7 separate regions of the Homo sapiens genome follow, and all the other regions are linked to region 4. The links are contacts of gene promoters, found by promoter capture Hi-C in human tissues and cell types (Jung and others, 2019). All regions are on one chromosome and are shown on one strand. Each heading gives the region's core, a stretch centred on a gene start or on the middle of the fragment in contact. The rest is flanking DNA. Distances are from core to core; before and after follow the strand shown.

Region 1 (2,771 bases), core at 28-2,527, 490 kb after region 4:
AATTAGCCAGGTGTGGTGACACATGCCTGTAATCCCAGCTACTCAGGAGGCTGAGGCAGGAGAATTGCTTGAACCCAGGAGATGAAAACTGCAGTTAGCTAAGATCGCACCACTGCACTCCAGCCTAGGTGACAGAGGGAGATCCATCTCAAGAAAACCCCAGCAAAAAACCTAGTCTTCCTTCCAGAGGACATGGGCCCCTTCCCAACCTTGGTGTCTTACCCTGAAGTCCAGAGGTGGTTCTGCTGGAGGTGTGGGAGGGGAATATTTATAATGGCTAAGCCCAATCCTTACAGTCTTTGCTCTCCTCTGCATTGTAAATGTTCCTTTTGCTCATTTCAGACCTACATTTGGGAGCTGATCCGTCTTGCTCTCAGTTAGGGCCCAGCCCTTCTGTGGGGACCAGGAAAATCTTTGCTCACCTGGAGAAGCTGCTGGTTCAGCCCAACTTTATCTAACGCCAAAGCCTCATTTAAGGCACTGAGCTTGACAGCTGCAGCCCGAAGATCAGCTACTTCTGTCTTCAGGGTGTTTTCAGAACTCGACAGCTCTGCAATTGACTGCTCTGCCTAAAAAACAAAAAGGATTAAAGAGTTTCATATTTCCAATTTTCCTGGAACAGTAAACAGTTCACATTCCCAACACTGCTGCTTTTTGGTACAGAGATCAGTTAATACTCCATTCCCTCTCCTGCATTCTAAACAAGTTTTCCCTTCATTCATTCATTAAGGAGTGAGACAGGACCTCACAGTATAGAGATACCAAAGTTAGGATAGAGAAATGACTATGATTGTAATGATGCCACAGAAAATGTAAGCACAAAGTGCTCTGGGAACTAAAAAAAATATTAATATAGTTTGGAAGAGTCAAATATGCTTGGTAGAGGAGTTGACGATTAAGTTGTGTACTGAGAGATGAGGAACAGTTTGCACATAAAGGAAGAGGAAAGAAGTAGTGCAGAGAAAGGGAAAAGTACACGCAGAGTATTAGAGTCATGAAGAACATGGAATAACTGAGAAGGCAATTACTGCTGTGGCAGGAGCAAAGGATATGAGGTGTTAGGATGGGTTTTGCAGTAGAAGGGGAGGCTAAAACACACTTTGAGGCACATGACAAAAAGCTTTGAATGTGGCACCACAGAGCTAGAAAGCCGTTGAATGGTTTTAAGAGACTGACATAACCAGGTATATACTTTAGAAAGCCCATTCTAATTCCAATATAGAGGGTATGTTGGAATAGAGAACCCAGAAGCAGACTAATGATTGAGGAAAGATGAGGGATCCTGGCTTGAAGGTGAAGAATGAGGCAGGCTGCATGGGAACACACTTTCGAAGCCGCCCACCCAGCAAGTGAGGAGAGGAGGCCACGCACCCTAGCCAGCGCTGCGGTCACTTCCGTTTGCTCTTGCCTCAGTAACTCCCCTTCCAGGTGACTTGACTCCAGGGCTTCCCGAAGAGTGATCAGTTCACTGAGTGATTCTGACTGTTTGGCTTCCAGGCCCATCAGCATCTCCTGACTAAGATGGGAAAGAGAGGGGTCTAGAGGAACTCTTAGGGATGGGCCATAACCCCAAAGGTAACAGGAATATAATCACCTTTGCTATGCAACAGAATGAGGATGGTCTATAAACACTGATAAGGAAAGATTTCTAAGACATGTCAAGTGAAAAAAATCAAGGTGCAGAACAGTATATACATGATACACTACCTTTTATGCAAGAAAGTGGGGGAAGAAAGAATATATGCCCGTATTTGCATGAAGGAGCACTGGCAAGATAAACAAGAAGTCAGCTAAAATGGTTGCCTAAAGGGGGAAGGGAAATGGGATGGAGAAAGCACAAATGAGAGTGAGACTTCTCTGTGTATCTTCTTAGCTCACTGAAGCCTCAAACTCCTGGGGGCTCATGTGATCCTCCCATCTCACCTTGCCATGGCTACAGGCACATGCCACCACATTCAGCTACAGCTAATTTTTTGTTGTTAGGGGTTGTCTGCCCTTCTCCTTGGTACAGGGAGATCATTCTTAGCACAAGTCATGACCCTTATGGCAGCCCTTCAAGCTTCCACTATTCATGCCTACCAGGTACAAGGAACTGGGGCACAGGAGAGGAGGGAAATACAGCAAAGATGAAGATATATCCCTGCTCCCAGTTATTAAAGACCTACCATATGCCAGGTTCTATGCTGGCGTTTTCCAAAACATTGCTCTCATCTTCCCAGCAACCCTTCAAGGTAAATATTATCATCATTCTACAAATAATCTGTCCATGTGACAGAGCCATAATTTAAACTAAGCTTCTGCCTAGCTCAAAGTCCTTGCTTTTTCTGTGACATCATATAGGGGAATTTACAGATTAGCTGGGGCCATTGATTCTGGATTTCCCTTTCTTGACCAGCTAGCACATTTCCCACTACTTCCCTGTATAAGTCTTACCCTTTAGCCAGCCCAGCCTACTCTGAACATGCCATGAACCTTCCTGCCGCCTTTTCTTTGCTAATCTGTTCCTTGAGCTCTTCTCCCACTCTCTGCTAACCAAATAGGTAAAGGCCCAGCTCAAAGTCTACTCTCTCCTCCATAAAGCATTTCCTAGTCTTCAATAATTAGCTGTCACTCCTGTGCTCCCAAAGGACTTGGTCTGAAACTCTATTTAACTCATACTTCATCCAGCCTCATGTCACAGTGAGTTGTCTGTCTTCTGGCAAGTTCCCTGAAATCAGGGCTTTTGTCTTATTCATTTCTGTATCCCCCTCAGTGTCTCATCCCATATGGGT
Region 2 (2,700 bases), core at 12-2,511, 370 kb after region 4:
GTCTGGACCCAAGGGCAGCTTGCAGCTGCATTTGCTCAGCACCTTACAGAAAAATGAGAAGACAATTATTCCTATCCAGGGAGCTGATGAGATTATTGGGGGTTAGGCTTCCCCTGATTCTCTGGCACCTCAGCTGTTTTCCATCTCCATGAGTTCCCTTTCCCACGCTCCTAGAGGCTTATCCCGTGTCTCTTCAAACCTCGCCTCCTTTCTTTCACACTTGTTCCTGCTAATCACCTTCCCACACCCAGTCTACCTCCTTGCCGGCTTCTGCATCCATCTGCTCTCCTCCTTTCCTGCTCCAGTGACCACAGCTGTGATCTGGATTTCATCACTGGAGGAATTAGTTCTGTAATTGTCAATTTTCTCCCCTTCATCATTGATTGGTCCCTAGTTACCAGGTCATTGCTGTAACCACATAAACATGTTCGGCCAGGTGCGGTGGCTCACACCCGTAATCCCAGCACTTTTGGAGTCTGAGGCGGGCAGATCATTTGAGGTCAGGAGTTCAAGACCAGACTGGCCAACATGGCGAAACCCAGTCTCTACCAAAAAAATACAAAAATTAGCCGGGCATAATGGTGGGTACCTCCCAGCTACTTGGGAGGCTGAGGCAGGAGAGTCACTTGAACCTGGCAGGTGGAGGTTGCAGTGAGCCAAGATTGCGCCACTGCACTCCAGCCTGGGTGACTGAGCAAGACTACGTCTCAAAAACAAACAAACAAGAAAACAAAAAAAAAACATGTTCTAGTTACTTCCATCTTTGACCTTCACTACTGCCCTGAATTCCATTACCTGCTCCAGGTACTTAAGTGATTTTCAGATCCTCTTCTCAAAAGGGTTCTTTATTTGATAACTATTTATGGCACTTACTATGCCAGACACTGTTTTAGGCACAGGAATATCAGTGAAAAAGCATTCCTGCCCACAAAAATCCCTGAAGTTGGCCAGGCACAATGGCTGATGCCTGTAGTCCCAGCTACTTGTGGGAGGCTGAAGTGGGAAGATCTTGAGCCCAGGAGTTCAAGGCTGCAGTGAACCATGATTGCGCCACTGCACTCCAGTCTGGGTGACAGAATGGGACCCTGACTTTAAAAAAAAACCCTGAAGCTTACATTTGGGTGTAGAGGTTGGGGAAGGGTGGAGACATGTGAAATAAGCATGTAAACAGATAGAAAAATACTAAGTAGGATAAGTGTTAAGAAAGAACGCGAAGCAAGGAAGCATTAGAAAGAGGTACTGCAATTTCAGAAAGGGTGTGGAGGGGAGGCCACCGTGAAGGTGACATGAAGCTGGAGGAGAAAGCCTGCCTGTAATGGTGTTCCAGGTGGAGGGGACAGCATGCCTGGAGTGTTTGAGGAGGAGCACAGAACCAGTGTGACTGCAGCAGTGTGACATAGTAGAAGAGGCTGGAGGAGGCCAGGGGAAGGAGGATGATGGTGGGGAGGGACAGATCCTGTGGGAGCCTCACAAGCCATTTTAATGACTTTGGCTTCTTCTCTGAGTGAAATGGGGGGGGAGGGGCAGTGAATGTTTTGAAAAGGAAAAAGATACACTCTAACACATAGATCCTTAAAAGGGATCAGTGGGGGAGGAAGCAGGGAGATTAGTAAAGGGGCTATTGTGATAATCCACGTGACAGGTGGCGATGAACTGATCTAGGGGATGGTTGCAGTGGAGATGGAGTGCTGTGAATGGATTCCAGAGAAAATTTGGAATTGGGGGTGATACCTCAGGACTTGCTAAGATTTTGGCTTGTGGGCTGGGCATGGTGGCTCACACCTGGAATCCCAGCACTTTGGGAGGCCAAGGTGGGAGGATCAATTGAGCCCAGGGGTTTGAAACCAACCTGAACAATATAGGAAGACCTTGTCTCTATGAAAAATACAAAAGTTAGCTGGGTGTGGTGGTGCACACCTGTAGTCCCAGCTACTCAGGAGGCTGAGATGGGAGGATGGCTTGAGTCCAGGAGTTTAAGGCTGCACCAACTGCATAGTTATGCAAGCCAAAATCTTCTTTTTTTGGAAAAAAGAAAAAAATCTGTTTTCAACAGAAAACAAAGGAGAAGGTCTGATGGAAGCAGGGATGAGGTGGGATCTGAGGGAAGGCAGATAGTAGGAGCTCAGTTTTGGACATGTTAACTGTGAAATTCTTATTGAATTGTAAGTGGACATGTGTGGTAGGCAGTTAGCTATATGAGTTGAGTTCTGGGGAGAATTCTAGGCTGGAAATGTCAATTTGGGAACTATCATTATGTAGATGGAGCTGGATAACAGCATTAACAGAGCACAGAAAAGAGAAATCTGAGAACCTGGAGCGTTCCAGCATTTAGAGGCAGGGAGGAAGCAGGGACTCAGCCAAGGACCCTGATCAGGAGAGGCAGTGAGGTAGGAGGCTGTAGGTGGTCACTTTTCTGTTCTCACCATGCTCAACCTTTCAGCGTCAGTAGACACAGTTGTTTCACCATTTTGGCCAGGCTGGTCTCGAACTCCTGACCTCAAGTGATTCACCGCCTCGGCCTCCCAAAGTGCGGGGATTACAGGCCTGAGCCACCACACCTGGCCAGATTCTGGATATTTTTTGAAGGTAGAGCATAAAGAATTTGCTGATGAATTGATGTGGAATAAGAGAGAAAGAGCAGTGAGAGATGACTCGAAAGTTCTGAGGTGAAATAGGGTTTTTGTTTTGTTTTGTTTTGTT
Region 3 (2,700 bases), core at 62-2,561, 320 kb after region 4:
AGCCTTGTCACTTAGAGTTTGTGCTTCATATCAAATGATAACAACCACATTGTGCTACACCACAAGTCACACAGTGGGAAGGATTTAAGAGGGTTAAATAGTTTTTTTGTTTCTTTTTTTTTTTTTTTTTTTTTTTTTTGAGATGGTCTTGCTCTGCTGCCCAGGCTGGAGTGCAGTGGTACAGTCAGCTCACTGTAACCTCGATGTCCTGGGCTCAAGCAATCCTGCTTCAGCCTCCTAAGTAGCTATTTTTTTTTTTTTTTAATTTTTTTGTAGAGATGAGGTAATTGCTGGGGTAGGGGTGATGGTGGAGTGGAGGGGTAGTTTCACTATGTGGCTCAGGCCGGTCTTGAACTCCGGGGCTCAAGTGATGCTCCCGCCTTGGCCTCTCAAAGTGCTGGGATTACAGGTGTGAGCCACTATGCCTGGCCTCAGTTTCTTAAAAGGTTTTAAATCACACCAACTGGTACCAGTGCCTCTGATTGCCTTGATTTTTCTGTGATCCCACTTGGAAGTTTGTTAATGCCACACTCCACTATACTCCACACATTAGATTGCAGTGGGGGCTGGAGAGTGGCCCAGCCTTTATACATAACTCCCTTCTGTGGTTTGGCCTGTGGGACCAGTAGGGTCCCTGTGCTGTAACTCTGACTGAAGTGATGGACATTAATGCAACTACTAATTACTGATGTAGATGAGCTGCTTTACTTCTATGACCATTGAATTGACAGATTGGAATTGGAAGCACCTGTCACCTTCAAGCTTTTAAGACAACTTCACATGAATGTACAGCTTAGCCATAGCTGTATCTCATACTAACAGATTTTTGCAGTGGTGTGCACCCAGCACTTATACTTTGGTGGAAAAGCAAAATAAGGTTCCTGTTCTTCAACAGTTGAGGGTTTTAAGTCACAACTAAGTGCTTGGTTGTGCTTATACTAGGTACATTCCTATACCACGGGAACCAGGTAGTGGCTTTCCTGGCCATTTGCTAAGTTATGGTTAGACAGGAACAAGTGTAAACTAGTCTTTGTCATAGTGTAGTTTCCTGTTGTTGAAATATTCCTTTGCTTTCTCGGCTTCCCTAACATGTAAATTCTGAAGACCCATCTTAAACTCTCCCCAGTGTCCCAAATGAATTTATTCCAGTGAAGGGTAAGGGGCTTGCATTATGAACAATAGGTAGGTTTCTTTTCCAAGAGCTCTGGTCTGCTTTTGTTCATTTACTCATCTCATTTTGTGCTGTAGGAGATATACACTCCTTTTGTGCACACTGTAGATGCACAGGTATTTGGTGATGCCTCAGTCCTGGAGATCATCAGGAAGGCGGTATAGTACTGTTGTCTCAGACACCCCACAGGTGATAGACATTAAAAGAATGTAGATTTCAGCCGGGAGGGATGGGGGCAGAATTGACTACCCTATAGATGTCCTTTGAAAATTTTGATACAGATCACATTTTTTAGAGGTGAGTTCTACCTTATTTGCACTATGCATGCTTGCTACTTAAAATTTATTCCTTTGATCAACTCCTGTAAATGTGGAGTCCAGGATTTCCTACCTTCCTTCCCCAGCAGTCAGACAAATAGGGAGAATTATATTCCATGTTTGTGCAAGGCTAACATTAGCATAGATCATGAGGGGAGACCATGTGAGTCTCACTGCTGTTGTAGTGGCAGGGTAGATTTCAGATTGGGGTGAATTACAAAATGTGAACTGTTGCTAAAATGGTTGGATATAGAAATAACATTCTCAGAATCGGTTCGTGGTTCCATCAGTTATGTGACTTAGGACAGATTATTTCCCTCTGGCCTCAGTGTTTCTTTTACAGTATGGGATTAAATTAGATAAGCTTGTGTCCAGTTTTAAGCTTCTGTGATTGTATGAACCTAGCCATTCGGTTTCTGGAAATCTGTACTGAGTTTGGACCTTAAACTAAAGTGACCAGGAATGGAGCTCCAAATTTTGATCTGGGTACTGCTCTCCTGGTTTCCCTAGTGTGGTAGTGATTCTACACTGCAGCTTGAGAAATTCAAAGGGGAAGAGTCTTCATCTCTCCTTTTGGGGGCTGTCCCTGTCCTGCTAGTTATATCCTGGAGCAGGTAGACCAGAGGCATTCCTCCTGGATCCACTCCTCCTTGGTCCAATTAACCAAGAAGGAGTTAATGATACTGCAGAAGGACCCAAAGGTGCACTTCCCTGTTTGTGAGCACCTACAGGGACAGTTGACACTGGGTACTTACTCTGTGCCGGGCAGGGGATACTTTCTATGACTGTCCTCATGTAATCCTCACAAATAACACTGTAAAGTTAACATTATCATCCCTACTTTACAGGTGGGGTAATCCAGGCAGAGAAAAATAATTAATAGTAAGGGGAAAACAAAGATGTTTTAATCATGGATGCTTGTATGACTCCTCAGGTAGAAACCCTCCCTCAACTATCCCCAGCCCCTCCCTGACTTTTAGGGAAAGTGGGAGGCCACTGGCAGCAGTCTTCTGTCATGGATTCTGAGCTGCTGGGGAAGGAGCCTTTTCAGTTTGCCAACTCCAACTATAGTGTGGAGGGCCCTTACCTATTGGTAGGGCTTCTTGGCCTCCACGGTCAAGCTTATGATTGCAGAGGGGGACCTGAACTTACTTTGTTGTTTTTTTGTTTTCGCAACAGAGTCTCACTCTGTTGCTTAGGCTGCAGTGCAGT
Region 4 (2,730 bases), core at 25-2,524:
GTTGAGGATGTGTGTACTTCACAATGGAAGAATTGTATGTACTTTATATGTCCTCTTCAGAGAAACATACATGTACAAGGGGATAGCCATGAGGGTAATCATGGCAACATTGTGTGTAACAGTGAATGGCTGAAAACAAATGTTCATTAGTAGGGATCGAAGGGATCAATACATTATGGTTCAGTCACAGGATTGAACACAGCACTAAGTCTGTGTGTGTCAATGTGGATAAAGCTGAAATGATTTTGAGTGGGAAAAAAGAACTATGATGCTATTTATGGTATCATTTTTAAACAGTGTGCCACATACTATATATTGTTTATGGATACATACACATGTGATAATATATAAAAATATAAACAGGAAGGGTGACACCAACTTCAGGAAAGTGGTTACTATTAAAGAGAAATAAAGGGGCATGGGATGGTAAAGAGCTTTCCCTACACCTGTAATGTTCTATTTCTTAAAAATTAGATATCTATGGAAATATGGGGAAAGGTACTTTATGAATAAAATTAATACTTACTGAGTACAATTTACTATTGTCAGGCATTATCCAAAGCACTATTCTGATATGTAAATCATTTAATCAGTAAATTTATGCAGTAGGTACTAGTATTATCATCTCACTTTACAGAGGAGAAAATAAAGGCACAGCAAACCAAGCAACTTGCCTGGGGTCACATGACTAATAGGTGATAGGGATTTAAACCTAGGTAGTCTGGCTCCAGAGTTCACAAGCTTAACCTATGACTCAATGTTGCTACCCTGACTCTATCCTCCCTCGTTCTCTCTGGATCTCATAATAGCAGGAAGAGTGGGTACAGAACAGGACTCAGTGGCTCTGAGTGTGGCTTATGGCTTGCCCAGTGTGGGGGGCTGGTAGGCTACAGGGCAGGGGTCCCTCCTTTGTGCCATGCTGTGACTCCAAAAGGTACAGGATGGCCACCATTCATCCAAGACCCCTCCTACACCTGCATCGACCTTCCTCAAAACACCTGTCTGTTCAGTCTTCTGCTCTTCCCTCCCAGGGCCCTTGCCCCTCCTCACCAGTTCCTTCTTCAGGAGCTGCCAGGCATAAGTTACCATATGTCTCCTCATGGTTCCTGTGCAGGCAAATGGCACAACTAGCCCCTTTGCCTTTCAAGGGGAGGACTACAAATTTTTCCCCAAAAATCCAGTAATACTAGAAACAAATAGATTTCCTCAGTAACAAGGCAAGAGCTCCACTCCACTCCTCCTACCATACCATCAGCTACTGGAAGCCCTGCTCTGAGAAAAATCATTCTCAGAATCTCCTAAGGTCACAATGAAAGATTCTGGAGGCAGGGGACACAGGGATTGGAATGTGGGAGTCTAACATTTATGGGATACTCACAGGCATTATCTCAGCTAATCCTCACAACCACCCAAACTTTTACTCAACTCCATACATAGGAGACTGGGGCTCAAAGTAGCTAAATGGCTGCCAGAGTCCTGGTGAGACAGGAGAATGGCACAACCCTGCTGACCAAAACAGGATCTAGGACCCCCTAGCTGTCCCCATCCCTCATTAACATAAGACACTCCTACCAGTGCCATGACAGTGTACAAATGTCTTGGCAATGACCAGGAAGTTGCTACCTCTTTCCTAGAAAACTCTAAAAACCCACTCCTTAATTTGCATTAACCTGCCCCTTAATTTGCATTAGCCTGCCCCTTAATTTGCATGTGATTGAAAGTGGGTAGGAATGCGTATACTACACTTGATCTCAGCCAAAAGGCTGAGAAGGGATTAGAGATGAGCATAAATACAGTTGCCAACATCTCATACACTGGGTATCGACTCCGGATTCATTGCCCATGAGTTAGCCCTGCCCCACAAGGAGAAGCACTATTCAATAAAAGATTGCTGTCTAACACCACTGGCTCACCCTTGAATTCCTTCCTTGGGCAAAGCCAAGAACTCTCCTAAGCTAAGTCTCAATTTGGGGGCTCACCTGTCCTGCAAAGATAGGGCTTTTTTGTTTTTTGAGACACTGTCTCACTTTGTTCCCAGGATGGAGTGCAGTGGCCCAATCTCAGCTCACTGCAACCTCTGCCTCCCAAATTCAAGTGATTCTCCTGCCTCAGCCGCCCAAGTAGCTAGGATTACAGGCGTGTGCCACCATGCCCGGCTGATTTTTGTATTTTTAGTAAAGACAGGCTTTCACCACGTTGCCCAGGCTGGTCTCAAGCTCCTGACCTCAAGTGATCCACCCACCTCAGCCTCCCAAAGTGCCGGGATTACAGGCATAAACCACCACTCCTGGCCAGGGCCTTTTTTTTTTTTTTTTTTTTAAGAAAGCAGTGTAGCTAAATGTCAGGTACACTTGCTCTCCATTTGTAGCATCCAATTAACAGAAGCAAGGTCTGGTCCAGCCTGGCCAATGTGGTGAAACCCCATCCCTACTAAAAATACAAAAAAATTAGCCGGGTGAGGTGGTGGGCACCTATAATCCCAGCTACTCGGGAGGCTGAGGTGGGAGGATCACTTGAACCCGGGAGGCAGAGGTTGCAGTCAGCCAAGATTGTGCCACTGCACTCCAGCCTGAACGACAGAGCAAGACTCTGTCTCAAAAAAAAAAAAAAAAAAAAAAAAAAAAGCGGGAGGGGGAATTGGCATAAATGGCATGCAGAGGAGGGAATGAGCAGGTGGGAGTCTCCATGACTCACTTTGGTGCCTTATCTACCGCCTGGTCGAGCTGCCAC
Region 5 (2,700 bases), core at 108-2,607, 310 kb after region 4:
GTTGATAGTTTTTACTCCATTTTGCAGAGAGCCATTCTGTCATTGTATGAATGTATGTTTTCTTCTGTAGATGTTGTAGGAAGAACCAAGTGTCAGTAGTTGGTTGCACAAAAGATGCTTTTAGATGTCCCTCCCTAAAATGCAGAGACTGATGATGTCCACTTTTATATCTTTTGTCTGGCCCACAAGTGCTTAATAGTAAATGTTCATGGAGTAAAGGAATATTGTTAAATGTTTTCAACTAAACAGAAAAGATAATTTTATCTAAACTACAGTTTTATCAGATTTTACTACCACACCCATATACCTTTTGGTTTGCACAAAATTTAATTAAGTTTAAAGCCAGCTTTTAAGACTCAAAAACAGAGTGAATGTGGTTGTTTAGGTTAGAAGTATAATTTTGCTCTGAAGTGAAAATGAAGGTAGCAACATTTTTGTTGGCATTTGGGGGGATTGAAACATAACTTAATATTTTTGACAGGAGGAATATCTTATTTAGAAATGTCTTCTGATTTGCTGCCTTTGAGTACGGAATGGAGGTTAATGGAAAAATTGAGTAATGCGTTATAAAAAGTACACATCTCCATCAGTGTCAGAATAATTTTTTCATTAAGAGTGATCCCAGACTTTGATATATGGTCCATTTGGGAATGGGGAACAAAATCAAGTGGCTGAAACTGTGGTTGTTTCATAATGTTTATTATAATGTGATTATACTGTTTTTAGCATTGTGCCCGTTGTGATTGGTTCTCTGTTGCTAATCTCTGAGGTGAACATTTGAGAGTTTGTTTCTTTTGGATCTGAAGAACCTAGCTCTGCTGTACCCTGGTTCTTGTTGATTAAAGAGTGATAACTGAACAAAGTTAAAGTTCACTTTTGGATGTTTACTACCAGATGAAGAGTGAAAATAGTCGTTTTAGTTTGTGCCTTGACTTCTTGATGAAGAGATTTGTTGTCAGACATTTTTTTCTGAAATTCCAAGTGATTAGAATGGCTAGTAAATACGAAAGTCTGTCTTGCCATAATATGTTAAATTTTTGTAGCAGATACTTGTGATTTGTGCATGCATCCGGTATTTTGTCAAGTTGAAGCAAGCCTTTATGTTAGGACTAATTCCTGATAATATGAATGGAAAACATACTAAAGCCAGCTTCTTGTTTTAGATCTTCTGAAGTATATCAGTGGCTTTAATGACAAATCAGGCCCATTTTCTCCTTTCCTATCATTATGCTGTATGTATAGATAGAATATGTATTTTAGATGTTTTATTGTTTAGTTATTATTTTAGTCTTATCCTTCTAAAGTTCAGCAAAGCTTTAGGTAAATGGCGTGGATTTTTGAAATCCTGCATTCAGTCGCTAGCTGACATTTAGAATACAGGAATAGTAGTTTCCTGGAAAACAGTGACACTTATGTTAAATTCTTGTGGTTTTTACAAAGTGAGGTGTCAACACAGAAGTATTTCAGTTCTATTTCCATTTACCTTTCCCTTTTGAAGAGGTATAATACCAAGGGTTGTGAAGTTCTGACTTGTAGCATCAACTTTCTGCATGGTTTTCCTTGGTATGGGGTGGGGTGGGTATTCCTCTTTGCTGAAATAGAAGAGAATCATAAATTTCTATCTGGATTGATTTTGTGCTTTAAGTTGTACACATAAAACTTGAACTAGGCATTTGTCAAATTCAGCTGGGCCTTTCAGCCTTGCCTTGTGGAATGAGAAATATCTTCCTTTTAAAGGTAATTTCTGGTAACCTTTTAGAAATTTTTGAGAGTAGACCTGGTGAGTTCCCTTTGAGCTTAACTGGCTGACCCCAGATATGTCCTTCTCAAGATAGACATACGGTATCTTTTGAGTTTGCAAGGGAAGAGGCTGAGAGGAACCTTCTTACCTTATATTCAGGCATATGCCCTGGCCCCATACCTGACCTTTTGAATTGGAATCTCCAGTAGGGATCAGATGTTTATTACAAGTTCTAGAAACTAGAAAGTTACCCTGTTATGTGGCTGCTGGAGTCAAACCTGTACATAAATATTACAGTACTTCATGCTCTTGCTCATTGCTTTACTTGAAGCAGGTTTTTTTCTGTTTCACATTTTCCTTTGTGACCTGTTAAACTACTAGATATGGCTTTCAAATGAAGAATTTTTAAACTCCTTAGACTTAGTTAGGCTAGGCCAGGCGTGGTGGCTCACACCTGTAATCTCAGCACTTTGGGAGGCTGAGGCGGGTGGATCACTTGAGGTGAGGAGTTAAGAGACCAGCCTGGGTAACATAATGAAACCCCTGTCTCTACTAAAAATACAAAAATAAGCTGCGGGTGGTGGCGCAAGCCTGTAGTCAGTCCCAGCTACTCCAGAGGCTGAGGCATGAGAATAGCTTGAACCCAGGGAGGCGGAGGTTGCAATGAGCCTAATGAGCCTAGATCGCGCCACTGCACTCTAGCCTGGGCGACAGAGCGATACCCTGTCTCAAAAAAAGAAAAAAAAAAGAGGCTAGATTTCTACAACATGTAAAAGATTAATACAATGCTCTAGACTTTTGATTGTGTTGATTACATATTTGCATAGCTTTTTGTGGTAAAACCATCTCACTATTCTTTAGCAACTTGAGTAGTTGACTAGACGATGAATAGTTTGTCCTTTAGAAAATCACACAGATTTTTGAAATATGTTTTACTTTTTGGCGATGAATATTAAGGT
Region 6 (2,700 bases), core at 3-2,502, 470 kb after region 4:
CTCCAATTTTTTTAATTTTTAAATCTACAGAGACAGAAAATGGAAGCCCAGCCATTTCCTTCTTTCAGTTCATCAAATCTGTTCCTCCTAATCTCTTCTTCCAGGATGGGCCTCAAAGGCCAAGCAAAGCTGAAAAAATAGTTCAAGGTGGTCAGCACCCCTTTGGAAGTGCATCTAGATCTCACCTCACATTTCTGGGTAAATAATGCAGTGCAGCTGGGCGCAGTGGCTCACGCCTGTAATCCTAGCACTTTGGGAGGTCGAGGCAGGCGGATCACTTGAGGCCAGGAGTTCAAGCACTCCCTGCTGCTGCCAGCCCCAGCGCTGCCTGGTAATCATCCCAATATGTCCTCATCCTCATCACAGAGAGCCTTGGCCCTCAATTCCAGACAGGGTTGAGCCAGATGACACTGGAGGTCCCTTCTAGCCCCCAATCCTATAATTGTGCAGGAGCTCCTAGAGACCCCGGTGGCTCCGCTGGTTGGTGAACATGGTGAAACCCCGTCTTTATTAAAAATCCAAAAAAATTAGCCAGGCGTGGTGGCGCATGCCTATAATCCTAGCTGCTCGGAAGACATAGGTTGCAGCGAGCCGAAGTCGTGACATTGTACTCAAACCTGAGTGACAGAGTGAGATGTCGTCTCAAAAATAAAATAAAATAAACAGAGTGGCTGCTAGGCCTGTGCCTGCCACTTCTGGGCTCCCCACCTATCCCTTCTCCCTCTCAATCTCCCTGCCTGTCTTGAGCTTCTCACCTTCCTGATTCTGGGAGAGCTGTCTCTGCAGATCCTGCAACTCTGTGTGGACCTGGCTCTTCTCAGCCTCAGTATCAGTTAGACGCTCTTCCAGTTTCTGGACCTGATCCCTCAGAACATCCTGGGAAAGGAAGGGCATGGCTAAACGTGAGTTCCTCATCTTCCACAAAACAATGCAGGGCTCAAGCTCTCTCCTCATTCTCAGCTTCTGTGGTGGGCCGCCATTGTGGACCTACTCCCAGATTGCCGGGTTACTTCCTTTAAACACATGTGTATTTAGCTTCCTGAAGTGATGACAGGCTCTGCTCCACTTGGATGGAGTGTGAGAATCCATCCCCTTCTGACCTATCTATGTCTTTTGAAACAGAGCTCCTGCTCAAAGTTAGCCCAGGGGTCACCACTTCCCTCTCAACACTCCTACTTCAAAGCTCAGCCCAAAGGTCATCTCTTCTTTCCTTCTGACCCTTCCCAAATCAGGATGAATTGCCCCCTCCTCCTAGTTCCAACAGTGCATCACTTGCGTCTGTTATTGATCCAATTAATTCTCTCAGTTCTGCTTTCCAGTAGAATGCAGTTTGGTTCCTCCACCATGTCACAAGCCTTCTTTAGGCAGAGACCAGGTCTTTCTCCTTTTTGTATACCCAGCCCAGAGTGGCTGACATATGGATGACACTCAATTTGTATTGACTGATAGGTTCACTGTGAGGTGGAATTTATGAGCTCTTTCAGACCTAGGCCTAGAACATGCCTATAAATGCCAACCTCAAATCTCAGTGGTCACTGATTTCTAGGGTTTCTCTTGGAAGCCTGGGTACCAAGAATTAATTCATAGCTGAGTGGAAGATGATGGAAAACAATGCCATACATCTGCCCAGGGTTTTTTTGTGTTTGTTTGAGATGGAGTTTCACTTTTGTCGTTCAACCTGGAGTGCAATGGCACAATCTTGGCTCACTGCAACCTCCACCTCCCAGGTTCAAGTGATTCTCCTGCCTCAGCCTCCTGAGTAGCTGGGATTACAGGTGCCCACCGCCACCTCTGGCTAATTTTTGTATTTTTAGTAGAGATGGGGTTTCACCATGTTGGCCAGGCTGATTTTGAACTCCTGACCTCAGGTGATCCACCTGTCTCAGCCTCCCAAAGCACTGGGATTACAGGCATGAGCCACCGTGCCTGGCCTACCCAGGGTTTTTTGGTTTACAGGGCTCATTCAAGATCCTCTCTCATCTAATCCTCAAAACCCTGAGCAGGCACTATCTGCCCTACTCTGCAAGGGAAAACAAGGCCCAGGAACTTCAAATGCTTCATTTGTGGTTGCCAGGTGGTAAGTGATAGAGGTGAAACTCATCCCAACTTGATCTCAGGAATAAAACAGGTCAAACTGCTTCACACCCCTTTGCCTCATGCTTTTCCAGGGATGTAAAGAGTTCGGGAAAGGGGAGCAGAGAAACATACCCGGGTCTGTTGAGTCTTCCACAGGTCTTGATGAAGCTTGTGGAGGGCAGATGCTACTGCCTCAGCGGAGAGAGCAGTCAGCAGGGGCCCTCTCTTAAAGAGGCTCCTAGCTCCATTCTGGTCTGAAAAAATGAGGAAAACCTCCTTACCTGGCTGCCACTATGAAAAGAAACAGCCAGACCTCTCCAGACACAGCCCTGTCCTTCCAACTGGTCCCTCCTCTCCGCAAAGAACCCCTTTCTCAGCAGTTCACTCATCACATATTTTCTCCATAAGTATGGGCCAGGCACTATGGTGGGTGCTAGATTAATGCGAGCTATCACTTATTACGCACTTAATAAGTGCCAGGAACCGTGTAAGTGATTCACATCTGCAACCTCATAACTCCTTGGTGAAATTATAAGGTAAATACTTTTAACATCCTCATTTTGTAGTTGAGGAAAATCAAGCTCAGAGAGGACAGGTGACTTGCCCAAGGACACATAGCTAGCA
Region 7 (2,771 bases), core at 186-2,685, 440 kb after region 4:
ATTTGTTGAGATAGAGAAGTTTTGAAGCTGGGTGCAGTGGCTCACGCCTGTAATCCCAGTACTTTGGGAGGCCGAGGTGGGCAGATTACCTGAGGTCAGGAGTTTGAGATCAGCCTGGCCAACATGGTGGAATCCCGTTTGTACCAAAAATACAAAAAATTAGCCGGGCTTGGTGGCACGCACCTGTAATCCCAGCTATTCGGGAGGCAGAGGCAGGAGAATTGCTTGAACCCCGGAGGAGGCAGAAGTTGCAGTGAGCTGAGATTGCGCCACTGCACTCCAGCCTGGGTGACAGAGCAAGACTCTGTCTCAAACAAAACAAAAGAGACAGAGAAGTTTTGGGAAGGGTTGGTTTACAGGGAAAATCCTGGGTTCAGTCTCAGGCTTATTCAGGTGAGATGTCTCTGAGCCATCTAAGTGGCAATTCAGTAGGCTGTTGGATATGGGGTCTAGAGACTACAAGAGAGGATTGAGTTGATGTCACACAACTCCAGAGAGGGCATCACACACAAGTATATTTAAAGTTCCAGGCTGGGGCGGGGTGCAGTGGCTCATGCCTGTAATCCCAACACTTTGGGAGGCCAAGGCGGGCGGATCACCTGAGGTCAGAAGTTCGAGATCAGTCTGACCAACATGGGGAAACCCCGTCTCTACTAAAAATACAAAAAAATTAGCCAGGCGTGGTGGCGGGCACCTGTAATCCCAGCTACTTGGGAAACCGAGGCAAGAGAATCACTTAAACCCGGGAGGTAGAGGGTGCAGTGAGCCGAGATCGTGCCTCTGCACTCCAGCTGGGGCGACAAGAGTGAAACTCCGTCTCAAAATAATAATAATAATAATAATAATAATAATAATAATAATAATAATTTAAAAATAAAGTTCCCGGCTGGGCATGGTGGTTCACGCCTGTAATTCCAGCACTTTGGGAGGCTGAGGTGGGCGGATCACTTGAGGTCAGGAGTTTGAGACCAGCCTGGCCAATATGGCGAAACCCTGTCTCCACTAAAAATATAAAAATTAGCCAGGCGTGGTGGCGCATGCCTGTAGTCCCAGCTACTTGGGAGGCTGAGGCATGAGAATCGCTTGAACCAGGCAGGCGGAAGTTGCAGTGAGCCAAGATCATGCCACTGCACTCCAGCCTGGACAACAGAGCAAAAACTCCATCTCAAAAAAAAAAAAAAAAGTTCCCTCTCAACCCCTGTTTATTTATCCCATAAATATTTATTAAATGATTCTAAGTCTTAGAGCTGCAGAGGTGAAGAAGAGAGACTAGGTCAGCCCCTGTCCTCATGAATCTTACATCCAGTGGAGGTCATTTCGGTGTCAGAGAAAGGGTAGGGTGGTGGCTTTTTTCAGGCAGGCTAAAGGAGGGAGGTCACAATGTGTACTTTGTGATGAGATCTATGATATAACTGGGATGACAGCAAGGCCCCCACTGAGGTATTCCTTCCCCTCTCAGGACTAGCCACATGCTGTCTCTCTGCCCTGGCCTCTTCCACCCCATGCCCAGTCAGAGACCGTTTTGAGGGTGAGCAAATGGATAGTGAGGCAGGAGAGGAGGGGTTGGAAGGAGGTGGAAGGTGGTGGGATGGGGAGTTGTGGAGGCCGACAGGACAGAGGGAAGCTGGTGCTGTCTGTGGCCTCAGCCCCTCATCCTTACAGGTAGAGAAGCCAGTCTACGGCCCACCACGGGAGCCACCGCCTGGGCCAGACATGAAGCGCTGGCAGATTTTTGTCCTGTGGGTCTTTTGGGTGCTCATCCTCTGGCTGATGACCCCCTATCTGGATCTGACACCTGAATCAGCACCCCAGGAAAAACGAATGTACTTGGTACCACAGCATTGCGACTGCCCTTGGTTCAGTTCCGGGAAGTGTGGCTGCCCTTCTGAGACCCTCAACTGCTCCTCCTGCCACCACACAGCCGACGAATGGAACTGGCTTGATGCGTGCTCCAGGAAGACTATGGGGTACCTGATGAGGACAAGAGAGTCTATGACCTCTGACACTGTGCTCTGGTGGTTGGTCAGTGGTCAACACTGGGCCCGGCCATATCCCCCATGCTTTCCGGGCCTCACCCATCTCCCACTTTCCGCCCAAATCCCTGCCCTTGGCCCTGTCTTCACAGCCTCTGGATGGAGATCTCACCCACCCAGCTCTGTTTTCTCTCCCCTGGGCCCAGCCCCCAATCTCCCTCTTGCTGTTTCCAGGGCATGAACTCAGGGAGCGAGCTTGGGAAATTGTGGAGGAAGCTGTTTAAAGGGATTCCCAGGCTCTCGGTGAGCCATTTTGATTTCTATTGTGGGACTTGTGTGCTGTTGGGGCGCCCACAGATCCCGCAGGGCTCCAGCCTTGGCAACGACATCGACCAATACCCCGTGGTTTTCAGGTGGGTGCTGGGGAGAGGGCGGGAGCAGGAAGGCCAGGCCTGCCCCACAGTTCCATCAGTTTCTGCTCCCCTTCCCAAGATGAAGCAGGCCCCAAGTCCAGGGCTTTGAGATGGACGTGGGGAACCAAACCACACACAATGCTTCATCTATCCCAGGAATGCCAGCGACCAGGGCTCCTGGATGCAGCTGGAGATGCTACTGCGGAAGCTCTCTGACCTGGTGTGGACTTCAGATGCTCTAAGTGATAAGGTGATGGAGGTGTCCCCAGACATTCTCTGTGTGGGGGTGAGGGGAGGTCACTGCAGGGAGTAACAGCAGGGGCTCTGGGAAGACCTTCTATTGGCTTACTGGGGACACTTGCAGGACTTTCCCAGGTCTTGTGGC

The links. Contacts are between HindIII fragments. The study calls those that stand out against the background at their distance.
Region 1: a contact is called between a fragment that was not itself captured here and the fragment with the promoter of CNBD2 in region 4, in 1 of the 25 tissues and cell types used here (lymphoblastoid cells).
Region 2: a fragment that was not itself captured here is called in contact with the fragment with the promoter of CNBD2 in region 4 in 2 of the 25 tissues and cell types used here (small bowel and spleen).
Region 3: a contact is called between a fragment that was not itself captured here and the fragment with the promoter of CNBD2 in region 4, in 6 of the 25 tissues and cell types used here (dorsolateral prefrontal cortex, heart left ventricle, lymphoblastoid cells and 3 more).
Region 5: a contact is called between a fragment that was not itself captured here and the fragment with the promoter of CNBD2 in region 4, in 2 of the 25 tissues and cell types used here (IMR-90 fibroblasts and lymphoblastoid cells).
Region 6: a fragment that was not itself captured here is called in contact with the fragment with the promoter of CNBD2 in region 4 in 1 of the 25 tissues and cell types used here (spleen).
Region 7: the fragment with the promoter of C20orf173 here is called in contact with the fragment with the promoter of CNBD2 in region 4 in 5 of the 25 tissues and cell types used here (aorta, dorsolateral prefrontal cortex, small bowel and 2 more).

What each region holds. Positions count from the first base shown.
Region 1 is chr20:35,474,247-35,477,017 of GRCh38, reverse strand. It overlaps CEP250 (centrosomal protein 250), which reads right to left. Exons shown (of 35, transcript NM_007186.6): 15 at 1,372-1,516; 16 at 423-569. CEP250-AS1 (CEP250 antisense RNA 1) reads left to right here. Exons shown (of 3, transcript NR_184017.1): 3 at 343-2,771. Among named protein-coding and RNA genes, the nearest start is that of CEP250-AS1, 15 kb to the left of the region's middle. The HindIII fragment of the contact is 3,045 bases long and covers 1-2,771 here.
Region 2 is chr20:35,596,242-35,598,941 of GRCh38, reverse strand. It overlaps the pseudogene FER1L4. Among named protein-coding and RNA genes, the nearest start is that of SPAG4, 18 kb to the left of the region's middle. The HindIII fragment of the contact is 5,332 bases long and covers 1-2,700 here.
Region 3 is chr20:35,643,692-35,646,391 of GRCh38, reverse strand. All of the region lies in intron 1 of CPNE1 (copine 1), which reads left to right. Among named protein-coding and RNA genes, the nearest start is that of CPNE1, 20 kb to the left of the region's middle. The HindIII fragment of the contact is 5,383 bases long and covers 1-2,700 here.
Region 4 is chr20:35,967,134-35,969,863 of GRCh38, reverse strand. CNBD2 (cyclic nucleotide binding domain containing 2) reads right to left here and starts at 1,274. Exons shown (of 12, transcript NM_001365709.1): 1 at 1,051-1,274. The coding sequence starts at 1,101. It also overlaps the pseudogene LOC124904982. The HindIII fragment of the contact is 12,223 bases long and covers 1-2,730 here.
Region 5 is chr20:35,659,992-35,662,691 of GRCh38, reverse strand. The region is part of intron 1 of CPNE1 (copine 1); the gene reads left to right. The region is part of intron 1 of RBM12 (RNA binding motif protein 12); the gene reads left to right. Among named protein-coding and RNA genes, the nearest start is that of CPNE1, 3.6 kb to the left of the region's middle. The HindIII fragment of the contact is 4,098 bases long and covers 1-2,700 here.
Region 6 is chr20:35,498,225-35,500,924 of GRCh38, reverse strand. It overlaps CEP250 (centrosomal protein 250), which reads right to left. Exons shown (of 35, transcript NM_007186.6): 27 at 2,209-2,330; 28 at 756-876. Among named protein-coding and RNA genes, the nearest start is that of CEP250-AS1, 8.6 kb to the right of the region's middle. The HindIII fragment of the contact is 7,280 bases long and covers 1-2,700 here.
Region 7 is chr20:35,528,316-35,531,086 of GRCh38, reverse strand. C20orf173 (chromosome 20 open reading frame 173) reads left to right here and starts at 1,435. Exons shown (of 6, transcript NM_001145350.2): 1 at 1,435-1,528; 2 at 1,663-2,022; 3 at 2,208-2,386; 4 at 2,543-2,636. The coding sequence starts at 1,714. The HindIII fragment of the contact is 31,043 bases long and covers 1-2,771 here.